Regions from separate parts of the Homo sapiens genome. Here regions 1 and 2 are each linked to region 3. The links are contacts of gene promoters, found by promoter capture Hi-C in blood cells and fetal thymus (Javierre and others, 2016). All regions are on one chromosome and are shown on one strand. The core of a region is centred on a gene start or on the middle of the fragment in contact, and the rest is flanking DNA. Distances in the headings are between cores, read along the strand shown.

Region 1 (4,015 bases), core at 194-2,693, 1.3 Mb after region 3:
TATTTTGAAAATTACTTTAATTAACCTTATCTCATTTTGTAGTAGTTATAGAACACTTTTATATTTTTTAACTGTGCACTAATTTGTTTCATCATTAACCTTGGGTTTTACCCTTGGTAATTATGGTAATTCATAATTTGGGTTGTGTCAGGTGCTAGTGGATTCAAACAATACATATTGTGGGAACCATCAATAGCTTTGGTAGTCAGGATTCTTTAGTTTGCAGGGGACAGAAAAAAGGCTTGGCAGGCTGGAGGGTAGAGGGGCAGGGTTCCGCAGAAGATTCCCAGGAATGGTTTTTAGTTGGCCAAGGACTCTGGTGGAGGAAGGGGGATGCTGAGTGGCCTAGGTCAGGCACTTACCCGACCCTCCCTAACTCCTCCTTCTGAAATCAGAGAGGGAGGAATCTGTGATAGAAGAAGGAGGAAAAGGAATGGATAGCCCCAAACACTGCGCACTATAATAGTTAATCATATTGATAGTGAGCGCGCGGTCTCTCTCTCTCTTTCTCTCCAGGCAGCCAAAGACTGCCACCATATGCAACTGGGTCCTGCATTTTTCATCTGCATCACCAATTTGTCACTCGAAAACCCAGGTCTCAATCCTCCCTGATTTTTCCAGAAACACCACTAGTATCCAATTCAGTAGGTCCCTATCATGGGCAGTGCGGGGGCGCCGGGCGTGGGCGACGCTCGTGTGTGACTCGCAGCTGGGCAGCCATCCCCGCGGGCGTCCTGGCTCCCCTTCCCTCTGAAAGCGCCGGGGCGGGCCAGCAGGGGGCGAGTTTCATTTCCGCACCGGAGACCCAGCCGGAATCACAAATGCCGCGAACTACACCCTCCTTTCCTGATCTGGCCAGGAGTCTGTGTCATTAAAACTCTCAGTTCTGCTTTTCCCTATATTAACATTATCTTCATTTTGAGCACATCACGTTCAGTGACAGAAAAGGAGATCCCATGAGTCACTGGAGGTAGACTTAAAATAGCTTAAGGATGATATTTCATGGATGTTAGTGACATCAGTCGAAGAAGCAGTGCTTTCAAAGAGCAGAATTCCTCATATTCACTCTTCGGATACCCAGCAGTTTTCCAGGTCTTGGTCTATACCCAGCCTTTTTCTTGGAGGAAGGTGCTCATCTTCCCACACAGGCTACACAGGGGGCAGGGAAAGTTGGGACAGGTGGCACAAGGCCATGTGAAGCCCCCCGTCCTCCTGCCGGGGCATCTTACATATTGCTGCCACTGCCGAGGGGGCATATCTGTGTATAGCTGCCCAGCAGAGTACAGGGAAGGTGTTATGTGGGAAGGAAGACTCCTGGGTGGGTAGGAGTTTGGGCTAAGTCCCTCCTGGTCCAGGTAACTTAGCTGGCCCCTGCAGATATGAGTGGTGGGAGACGGGATCCGGCGGGTGAGAGAGGGGAACCACAGAACCACAGGCTTTTCTCAGGTCGGGGAAAGACCTTAGAGATCACTTAGCTCAATGTCTTCTTTTCCTGACGCCCAGGGAAATTGTGAACAAATTCACCACCACAGAACTAGGCAAGTCCCCTGGTGGGCAAATGGACACCTTCACAGAAGCCATTTTCTTTCCTTGTGTATTATGTATCAAAGGCTAACTGTTTAACAAGCAACCCCGTGTCACAGTGGCTTAACACAAAACAAGTTATTTCTTGCTCTTGGACCACTGAAAGCGTTTCTTGGACAGCTTCCATGCAGTGATTCAGGGACCCAGGCACCTTTCATTCTGTGGCCCCACCATCCCTAAGGGCCTTAATGTTTGCTGCTGAGTACTCTGCATCTGGCTGTGACAGGTAGAGAGAGAGAATGAAGGACTGTGCAGGAGGTGGGCAGGCCTCACTGCCACTCACATTCCACTAGCTAGACGCCACTCTCAGGGCCAACCTTCCCCCAAGGGGAGCTGGGAAATGTAGTCCAGCTGTGTGCACAGGAAGCAGATAGGATGGCTCGGGGCAAGCACACAGCAGTGTCTGCCTCACCTATCTTCAAAGAAAACAGTCTTTGAGTTCTTTTGGGTTATTTACACTGGGTAGCAGAAGGCACATGATCTTTGGAGGTGGACAGACTTGGGTTTGGATATTGGCAGTGTGACCTTGGGCAAAGAAGTAACCTTTAGCCTCAGTTTGCTCAGCTGGTAAATGGGGCTATCTTGTGGGTATTACCTGAGGTAAGGAATGTAACTTGTCTATGTTACCACGTGGTCTCACATGTTTGTTTGTACAAACCAATGGGGCTGGGAGTATTGTTGGGGGAGGAGGAAACAGACTTCCTGTGTCCCATTTCCCCCACTCTGGATGGCAGCACTGCCCAACAGCTTCATTAGACGCCAAGAGTGGTGGCACTTTCTTCTGTCACTTGTTAAATTTCGATGTAGTTCATTCTAATCAATATGGGACTTTGGAAGGAAAAAAAGCATTCCCCAAACCCACAAGCAACCATTTTATTTGATTCATAAAAATTCAGTCACTGAGAAGGCAGTTCCAGCAAGAGAGTTTTGATCCTTCTTGCTCAGGCTGAGATGGTCACATCTAGAAAGCAGTGATTTTAAAATCCTATTTTCTTCTGAAAAAAAAAAAAATTTTTCTGAAGGGCAGTGAAAAGAGAAATAATCTAAGCTGAAGTGTCACTTTTCACTTATGGATATTGATGCTCTAAGACTAAATCTGGCTGACAGGAGTAAAGAGAACTGCCTTCTCATCATGGGTGAGACCCTGCAGGGTGAGATGTGGCTCAGGTATCATGGTGTGCCCAGGGACTGGCACATTAGGGGCTTCAATAAATATTTGCTGGTTAAATTAATAGGTGATTGAAGACAGTTACAGAAGTAATAACAACGAAAACAATTTTTTGGCCTGAAACGTCACTTTTTTTTTTTTTTTTTTGCGGGGTGGGTGGAGGGGAGGCAGTGGAATCCTGCATTTTAGTTTTTGGATTCCCTGAATGGTTTCTTCAATCATAAATGTTTGCTAAACACACACACACACACACACACACACACACACACACACACACACGCTCATACACGCTCATACACATGCCGACATTCTATAGGAAGGTAAAATAAAGAGGAAGCCCAATTGTGTCTGCCTTTTTAGGGCATTGTCCTTTAAAATAACCTTCCAAGCCTAGCTAGTTAAGCTTAGTGGCGATAAGATATTGAAAGCAATAAATAAATCCACATACGGATCTCAGAAGGTTAACAGTTTTTTAAGAAATTATTGTTCAAATCCAAGGGTAAAATGGCGCCTGAAATTACAAAACGTGGTCCTGTAGTGCCCTCTGGTGTCTTTTGCCTGGAATTGTCAAAGTCTGCCATTGCACCTAGCTCTAGTTATTAGCATAATCTTGATTTATTTGAGTCCGGGACTTTGGGGCCCTGGCTGATTTGGAGGGGAAGTGGGGGACGCAGGAAGCTGGGACTACTTTCTTTCAGGCCTTTTTTCAAATGGGTTACCAGCACAATGTAAAAATAATTTTATATTAACCCTGGTATAAGATTTAAAAATTGAAACGAATCATTATCTTGAAAAGAAGCCTTTTAGCTCCAAAAAATTATTGGCTTTTTTTCCAGAAGGCATATTATGCAGTTTCTTTTGTCCATTAAGCTATTCTTTGCAAATCAATTGGACAGAGGACATTTTTTAATTTCAGAAATTAATTATCACATGTAATAACTGAACCATTCTTTATTTTTTCTTGATACCCATTCAGTTAAATAAAAGACATGTGAGCTAGTCTATGAAATAGAATAAAGATTATGAATAAAATTAAAATATTCTAAAAGACAGTATTTTTTATGTTAAAAAAGTGTTGAAATTTATTCCATAAGGATGTTCATATTTTGAGGAAGGGGAAACTAGTCAAATTATACATATTTGGCAAGTGAAAATGGTGTAAGGCAATCACTGAGAGTTTTAGATTGTTAGTATTTGTTAATGAATCTGGCTTAACTCTAAATGCTGCAGCCAACATGGTAAAGTGCTATGAAAAAAGAAGGG
Region 2 (3,894 bases), core at 66-2,565, 1.4 Mb after region 3:
GGAAAAACACTTTGCACAATGTGACCCACTGATCCAAGCCCGGGTAGTTCTCATTGCCCGGGGAGAACAAGCAGAGCATTGTTTCAGCGATGAAAAGAAAAACATCCTCTGATTTTCCAAGTTTGTTCTGAACCAAATTTTTGGTTGAAATAGAAAGATGTATTTTTTTTCCTTTTCTTGCCACCCTTCTTTATTTTTTAACCCATTTTTTAATGAAGCTATCTAAGTGGATGTTGAAACAGTGAATGTTAAGAAAGAGTACATTTCCTATGTAAACAAACACAACCCGGCTTAGAGAGAGAGGAAAGCAGTCTTGTCAACCCGAAAGGAACCCAGCACATGGTAATTTTTGTAATTGAAGTATCCCAGGGATTCCAGGGTACATGAACAATCCATAAAACAGGAATGAGACCACACAAAAACACAACCATGGCTCCAGGCGGGCACTGTTGAAAAGAAGCAGACTTTTAGCAGTAGGAAGCAGGGAGCTTGCATCAGAGGATCTTTGTAAATGCCCCTCTAAAATTAAAGTCCTCTCTAAGCTCCTTCCAGGTAAAAATGTTGTTTACTGGGGCTGAAGGCTGTGAAACACGAGCAATATAGAGAGGAAGACAAAAAGACTGGTGAGGTCATGACCTTGAGCCTTTTTGTTTTCTTTCTCAAGGTCTTTTACATGCATCGTTGGATTGCAGTCTCAAGCCTGGGATTCCAACGGAATTAACGTCCATTGAAAACTTACTGTGCTCAAGGCACAGAACGGGGTAGTTTTATACACATTCTCCCATTTGGATTTTTCAAAGACAACATCTAATCATCCCCAGAGAAATTTCAGCTGAGAAGACAGGATGGTGAGACAGTTCCTAAGTCTTTCCTAGACACAATTGTCTTTGCAAGTCCTCTGCCACAGTCAAAGGTGCTTTCTTGCCTACCTACTGGTAAAATCCTTGACTGTCCGATTTCTCTAAATAACTATAATTGGAGCAATCAGATCATTAAAAAAAAACAGCAGGAGAGATGTTAATGTTCTAAAATACAGTTTCCATTCTAATTGCAGATGAAGTGCCCTGGGGGCCAGAGTCCAGACAAGTATTTTGGCACCTCCAAGGACTCGCAGAACACAGAGAGGAAAAGAGAGACCCTGTTATCTTTCCGCAGGGGTGGCCGTTCAAACTCTCAGAGATGGAAGTTAAGATTTCCTTTGGTATAAGTGGCAGTTTGACTGGCTGCAAGGAGAGCCTCAGTTTGTTTAATTTGGAGTAAAATTTTATGAGTTAATCTCTAGTGAGGGAAAGCAGCAGTAAACACAGAACATACTGGTCATTATTCTAAGTATTTCTACATTCTTTCTCATGCATGAAAGGAGAAAAAAAGTCACAAAAATGAGGAGGCATGGTGCTCAAACATGTGTGTGTGTGTGTGTGTGTGTGCGCGTGTGTGTGTGTGTGTGTATGATTTTGTTTTGATCAAACCATCTGGTGTGCAGCATACCCCAGGATGTGAAGGCAAACATTTACCAAGAGATTCACATGATTTCTGCTGTGTATACTCATATTTGTAGAAGACGCTTATGTTTTCAGAAAGTGGAGATAAACATAGATCTCTCTGCATTTATTAATGCAGCCCCAGTTCTTTGCAGACCAAACCGTTATTTATTTTAGTGGGCCTTAGAAACTCAGGTGTGTTAAAAAGCCAGAGAGACATGCACAATCTGGAAATGATCAGTGTCATGCCTGAGGAAAACATTACCGTGCTCCTCAAGTTTAATAATATGGGCAAAAAATTCAGGGATATTGCGATACGATGGTGTGCTGAGAAGTGGATTAAATCTCGATTAAATCACAACATAAATAATGCCTTAACTAAAAATGTTAAAGGCGAACTTGAAATGGTCTTAAAAACAAAAGAGGTAATTTACCTGATTTATTAGGGGAGAGAAAAAGTAGCTTGGTGTGTGTTCTGTGGATTTCATGTTTAATGGGATGGACTTTTAGGGAAATGGCTGGGGATCTGAGGAAGCTAAACGAAAAACCCCTATATGCTGGCTGGAGTTTTAAGAAGATAGAGGGAGGGAAAAATCACCCATCAACCAACCAACCAAACCAAACCAAGAGTCTGAGTGCCCCAGCACTGGAAGCAAGACAATTGTTTCCTAGGGGACTCCTGGCTACCAGGAGACTGCTCAATAAGGGAGCGCTTAAACTTCAAAAAGGAAAAAGCAGATTTATTAGGAGGCACACATGAGGCTTTAAGGGAATGCTCCTGGTAAGTGGGACTCCTGCTGTTCTCATTCTTGTGCCTTTGTATTGCTGAAAACCCTTCTGCAAGATCCAAATATGCCTTTGGTTTTTTTTTTTTTTTTCCACGTGTGTTGTCACTTGAACATTTTGCACCACCCATCTCTCTGAAAAGTTCAGGATGTAGGGTACTTCCTTTTGAAGGTCTCTCAATTCTTCATAAGGAACTGATCATATTCAGCTTCACTATGGGGGGGCAGTCCTGGGGTGGGCTGGGGGTGCTGGCACACATGTTCCTAGTGGGTCATGTGTCCCCGTGGGCAAAGGATAACACCTCTTGGGGCTCAGTTTCCTCATCAGTAAATAGAGAATCTGCTCTTTAAGGGCCTTGCCAGGTCTAAGATCCTGTGATTCTCAGTAGGCCAGAAAACACAACTTCTGAGCAATCAAACCTCTGAGTGACAGGATGGAATATTTTGCCAAAGGTCATGCAGCAAATGCTTGTCAGTCCTAAAGAGAACTTGAGACTGTACCTGTCTTGTGACAGCTGGACTCTGACATCTGACAAGGCAGGGGACTTTGCAGGGCAATGGCCACTCTTGTCTTGCTGACCATTGTCTGCCTAGAGCATGTGCCATGTAGTAGGCAGAAGATATTTGTGAAATCAATCAATGAAAGTTTAAATAGAGAAATAAGGGATTTCCTAGGAGCAACTCAGTTTTGAGAGTCGAGTTCTCTCAGCTGTCTGGCGGGGAACCCCATGCAAGCAGTTAGCATGAACTTGGTGTGGAGGAGGGTAGATGCCCCAGCATGCTAGAAAAAGACTTGGCAGAATGATAGTTTGAGAGATTAAAACATTTCTGTCATTGAGACTGGTGGCAGAGCCTGGACTACTGTGTCACCGATCCAGACACAAAGTGTGATAATTCTGGAGGCAGTACAAGGAAAATTGGATGATAGCTTTGACTCTGGACATTGATGAGTAAATTGACAAACCTTGAACTGTCTAGGGTTGTGCAAGAGTCACCAAGACTGATCAGACAGATGAAGAAAGTATGTTGCTTGCTTGAGACTCTTCATAAAACACAAGTCACGTGTCTTTGAATTAGCACGTTGTGACACACTAGACACACACCAACAGGAAAGGAAAGCTTTGGGAGATGATACTTATCTTTATTCTGTGCAATACAATCTGATATTTTATGTTCTATTTTGTTTTTATTTTAGTTTTTTCTTTATGAAAAATTTTAATTTTTAATTTTTATGGGTATATAATAGGTGTATACATTTATGGGGTACATGACATATTTTGCTACAGGTATAAAATGTTTAATCACATCAGGGTAAATGGGGATATTCATCATCTGAAAAATCCATCATTTGTATGTGTTATGAACATTCCAGTTGTGCTCCCTTAGTTATTCTAAAATGTACAGCAAATATTGCTGACTGTAGTCGCTCTGTTATGCTATCAAGTATTAGATCTTATTCATTATATATAACCATATTTTTGTGCCCAATAACCATCCCCATTTTCCATCTCCCCACACTACCCTTCCCAGCCTCTGGTAACTATCATTCTAGTCTCTATTTTGATGGGTTCAATTGTTTTAACTCCCCCAAAATGAGTGAGAACACATGCAAAGTTTGTCTTTCTGTG
Region 3 (4,027 bases), core at 325-2,824:
CAAGAAGAGAGTTGTTGGGAGGCCTCAGGTCTGGGCCCTTCTCAGCTCCTGGCTCTGCCTGGCTGCTCTGTGCTCTGTGTCCTCTCCTTTCTTTCGCTTCCTCCAAACATTGCTCCTTCAATCCTGCAGGATGGGGAGCATATTTTGCCTTCTTAATTTATTTTTTTTCCTCTTCTCAAGAAAGCTAGACTCAGAGTATTGCTATGGCCTCTCTCTATCCTTAGCACAAACCTAGCTTTTTAAAGACATCCCTGTTTCCCCAGGTGCAGGGAGTTCGGGAAGCACCTCTCCTTTCTCTGGTATTGTATTCCTCCTGTGGAATGAGCAGTAGGAAAGGCACAGAGCTCTCTGAGTTTTTGCCCTGCACATCCCTTGCTTTCACTCTCACACATTGCAAGGAAGGAGAGTAGGAGAGTAGGTGGGTTACCCCTTTCTCAGCCACCTCTCCTTGGCCCTCAGCCCGTCCTTTCCACCTCCATTCTCCCCACACCCCTGGAGCTCTGTAAGCAGCCTGATGGGCCCCCCACGAAGATGCAGCATACCCAGGAGAAGTCTCCTCGGATGTCAGCGCCTCTAAAGCAGCCCAAGGCTTGCCTCAATTGCATGGTTTCCCGAGTCCTCAGCTCCAGAAGACCAGGCAGATGGGTGGACCGGTGAGCAGCAGGGCAGCCCCTGTGCCTCTGTCTCTGCCGAGTCACTCCGAAGCCCGGCAGGCAGCGAGGAGGAGGGAGTTTCTCCAAGGACAGAAGGTGGGATGAAGAGGTAGGCAGGGAAGATGAGGGGAGAGGTGGATCCCGGGTAAGACGAAGGCCCTTCCGGGCCCTGCGGATCAGTGACAAACCGCGGGGAGAAGCCGTTCTGGCTGTTGGCGGTTTAGGGACGGAAGGCACTAAAGCGCTTCGGAAGTGACCATGAATGAGAGAGTGTAATCAAGTCACCGTGCAAATCGGACAAGCCACCAGGCAGGCACATCCACGGCTTCAAACTCTGGCCCCGAAGGGGTTCCGGCTAGGGTCGGAGGCAGAGGCGCTTCCCAGAGCAAGTCTATGGGAGGGGGACTGCGAAGAAGGGGGTGCAAATGCGAGACTCCAGGAGAACAGACTCCGAGACCACAGGCCACACAGCGACGGACTCCCACCTGGCTATCCCCAGTCCAGGGCATCCCTCACCCACCCGGGGAGCTGCGGGTGGGAGGTGGGGACGAGAGTTGAGCTCTCACCGCCCTCTGCACACTCGAGAACGAGGACCCTGCAATTGAGCACAAGCATGCTGCATGGGGGCGCACCCCAGCCTCTCCGCGCGCGCCGGGAGGCCCCCCAGCCAACATGAGTTACACCGGCGATTACGTGCTTTCGGTGAGAACACCGAGTGACGATCTGTTGCTTCCCCTGAGGTGGCTACAAAGAAAGGAAGCCGGGAGGGAGGGGAGAGGAGGAAAAAAAAAAAAGGAAAGGGGGGGGGAAAAGGCCCGGACTAGCTAGCAGCTTGTCAATTTCAACATCGGGTCACATGACCAGCACCTCCCTGCTAAGGATGGGGATAGATTTCCACGTCAGCTTACGTCTCCAAATTTCTACTTCACGGATCCGCTTCAAAGAGGCAGCTGCAGTGGAGAATCATGTTAAGCTCGGCTACTGCGGAGAGCCCAAGGTAGCCCAATAATGGATTTTGATGAGCGTGGTCCCTGCTCCTCTAACATGTATTTGCCAAGTTGTACTTACTACGTCTCGGGTCCAGATTTCTCCAGCCTCCCTTCTTTTCTGCCCCAGACCCCGTCTTCGCGCCCAATGACATACTCCTACTCCTCCAACCTGCCCCAGGTCCAACCCGTGCGCGAAGTGACCTTCAGAGAGTACGCCATTGAGCCCGCCACTAAATGGCACCCCCGCGGCAATCTGGCCCACTGCTACTCCGCGGAGGAGCTCGTGCACAGAGACTGCCTGCAGGCGCCCAGCGCGGCCGGCGTGCCTGGCGACGTGCTGGCCAAGAGCTCGGCCAACGTCTACCACCACCCCACCCCCGCAGTCTCGTCCAATTTCTATAGCACCGTGGGCAGGAACGGCGTCCTGCCACAGGCTTTCGACCAGTTTTTCGAGACAGCCTACGGCACCCCGGAAAACCTCGCCTCCTCCGACTACCCCGGGGACAAGAGCGCCGAGAAGGGGCCCCCGGCGGCCACGGCGACCTCCGCGGCGGCGGCGGCGGCTGCAACGGGCGCGCCGGCAACTTCAAGTTCGGACAGCGGCGGCGGCGGCGGCTGCCGGGAGACGGCGGCGGCAGCAGAGGAGAAAGAGCGGCGGCGGCGCCCCGAGAGCAGCAGCAGCCCCGAGTCGTCTTCCGGCCACACTGAGGACAAGGCCGGCGGCTCCAGTACGTATAAAGGCAGCGCCCTGCGCTTTATGAAAGGGGAGTTGGAAATCTAGCGCAGCACCGCTGTTAAATTTTTATATGCTGTTTTATAAGCATATAAGGTTTATGAAGGGCCTTTAGGTTTCCCCCAACAAAACTTTGTTATAAAAGGCGGGATCACGTGGCGAGTGCTGAAATTGGCCGTGAAATACCCACCGGCCAAGGCATGCCTGCAAAAAAAAACAACTCCCCTTTTCCCTTTTTTCCCTTCTCAGCTCCCAAGCCCAGCAGCTCGACCCCGCTCGGGGCCAGCTCCAGGCTGGGGAGCCGGAGGTGGGCGCCTGTAAATTCCCCCTGCAAGGGCTTCGGGAGCTTTTGATAGCGAGGTAATCCGGAGATTTTTATAAAAGCCATGTGTTGCGCCGGGACTCCAGTCCCGGCCGGGATTCAAAGGCGTCGCTGTTTAACGACGGCGCTAGGAGCGCGTTTAACAGATAAAGTAGCCCGCTTAGCTCTAGCAATATATTAAAAGAACAAATTAACCCAAAGTTGGCCTTTTTGTCCAAAGGAAGCCATTTTCCTCTGGCGTGGTGGCAATTACGTGCCTCCTTCTGCCCAACTGCATGTTATTCACAATTGTTATTCAATCTGTCAAAAGCGATTTTTTTTTTGTCTTGTGGGTCTTTTTTTTTTTTTTTTTTTTTTTTTTAAAGGGGGAGCAAGTAGAGCCTGCCCGCAGCTTCGGGAAGCCCCCTTTCCCTTCACCCTACCTAAGATAGAGCCGCTGCTCTGCCGTGTGCAGGATGGCCGTGTGGCCGTGGTGCTCAGCGAAGGCCTAGGGTAGGGGGCTTCCGCCGCCACCTCCCCACCTCGGCGGAGCCGGAAGGCTGGCCGGGGAGGCAGAAGCTGGTGGCCAGGACTCAGGCTGACAAAGACCCGGCAGCCGCCCCAGATGTTAAGGACTGCCCAGTCTTGGCCGCAGCCGGGAAAGACTGGGACTGGAGCCGCCTTTACTGCCTTGGGAAGGGGCAGCCCAGGTGCTGGAAGGTGAAATGTCCGCAGGCGGCTGTTTGTTTAGTCTGGCCTGCGAGAGGCAGCCGGCAACCCCCACTTGGCTGCTTTCAAAGAGGCTTAGGCAGCGCAAACTCGCCTGTTGCTGTGCGAAGCTCTCCTTTCTGTTCTGGGGGCAGCGGGAGCAGCTTCCCCGGGGGCCTATTTAGGGAGCTGGCTTTTATCTGTGGCTGAGCCTCCAACTGCGGCCGTTCCAAGCATGCAGTCGGAGCGTTAAAGGCAGGGGCCTGGGCAGACTTTGACGGGGCTTGGGCTGGACCACCAGTCCCCATGGCAGCCCTTCTCCTCAGCTATGGGCTCTGGGGTGGATTGCAGCCCCCACACCTGGCTCACCCCATGCCTTTTCTCCCTCCACAGGTGGCCAACGCACCCGCAAAAAGCGCTGCCCCTATACCAAGTACCAGATCCGAGAGCTGGAACGGGAGTTCTTCTTCAGCGTCTACATTAACAAAGAGAAGCGCCTGCAACTGTCCCGCATGCTCAACCTCACTGATCGTCAAGTCAAAATCTGGTTTCAGAACAGGAGAATGAAGGAAAAAAAAATTAACAGAGACCGTTTACAGTACTACTCAGCAAATCCACTCCTCTAAGACTCCAGCGGCTGGAA

Evidence for each region. The method cuts DNA at HindIII sites, captures the fragments that hold promoters and counts their contacts. A CHiCAGO score of 5 or more calls a contact.
Region 1: a contact is called between a fragment that was not itself captured here and the fragment with the promoter of HOXA11 in region 3, in 11 of 17 cell types (total B cells, naive B cells, naive CD4 T cells and 8 more). The highest score is 18.9, in total B cells.
Region 2: a fragment that was not itself captured here is called in contact with the fragment with the promoter of HOXA11 in region 3 in 1 of 17 cell types (naive B cells); the score reaches 6.0 in naive B cells.

The regions. Positions count from the first base shown.
Region 1 is chr7:25,892,294-25,896,308 of GRCh38, reverse strand. No RefSeq gene overlaps it. Among named protein-coding and RNA genes, the nearest start is that of MIR148A, 56 kb to the left of the region's middle. RefSeq lists enhancers at 960-1,049, 3,243-3,322. The HindIII fragment of the contact is 3,429 bases long and covers 1-3,157 here.
Region 2 is chr7:25,828,720-25,832,613 of GRCh38, reverse strand. It overlaps LOC100506236 (a long non-coding RNA gene), which reads left to right. Exons shown (of 3, transcript XR_108752.5): 2 at 665-848; 3 at 1,055-1,323. Among named protein-coding and RNA genes, the nearest start is that of LINC03007, 41 kb to the right of the region's middle. RefSeq lists an enhancer at 1,942-2,514. The HindIII fragment of the contact is 4,145 bases long and covers 1-3,387 here.
Region 3 is chr7:27,182,779-27,186,805 of GRCh38, reverse strand. HOXA11 (homeobox A11) reads left to right here and starts at 1,574. Exons shown (of 2, transcript NM_005523.6): 1 at 1,574-2,370; 2 at 3,778-4,027. The coding sequence starts at 1,662. The coding sequence ends at 4,010. HOXA11-AS (HOXA11 antisense RNA) reads right to left here and starts at 1,398. Exons shown (of 2, transcript NR_002795.2): 1 at 543-1,398. RefSeq lists enhancers at 447-1,328, 2,211-3,092, 3,093-3,975. The HindIII fragment of the contact is 8,872 bases long and covers 1-4,027 here.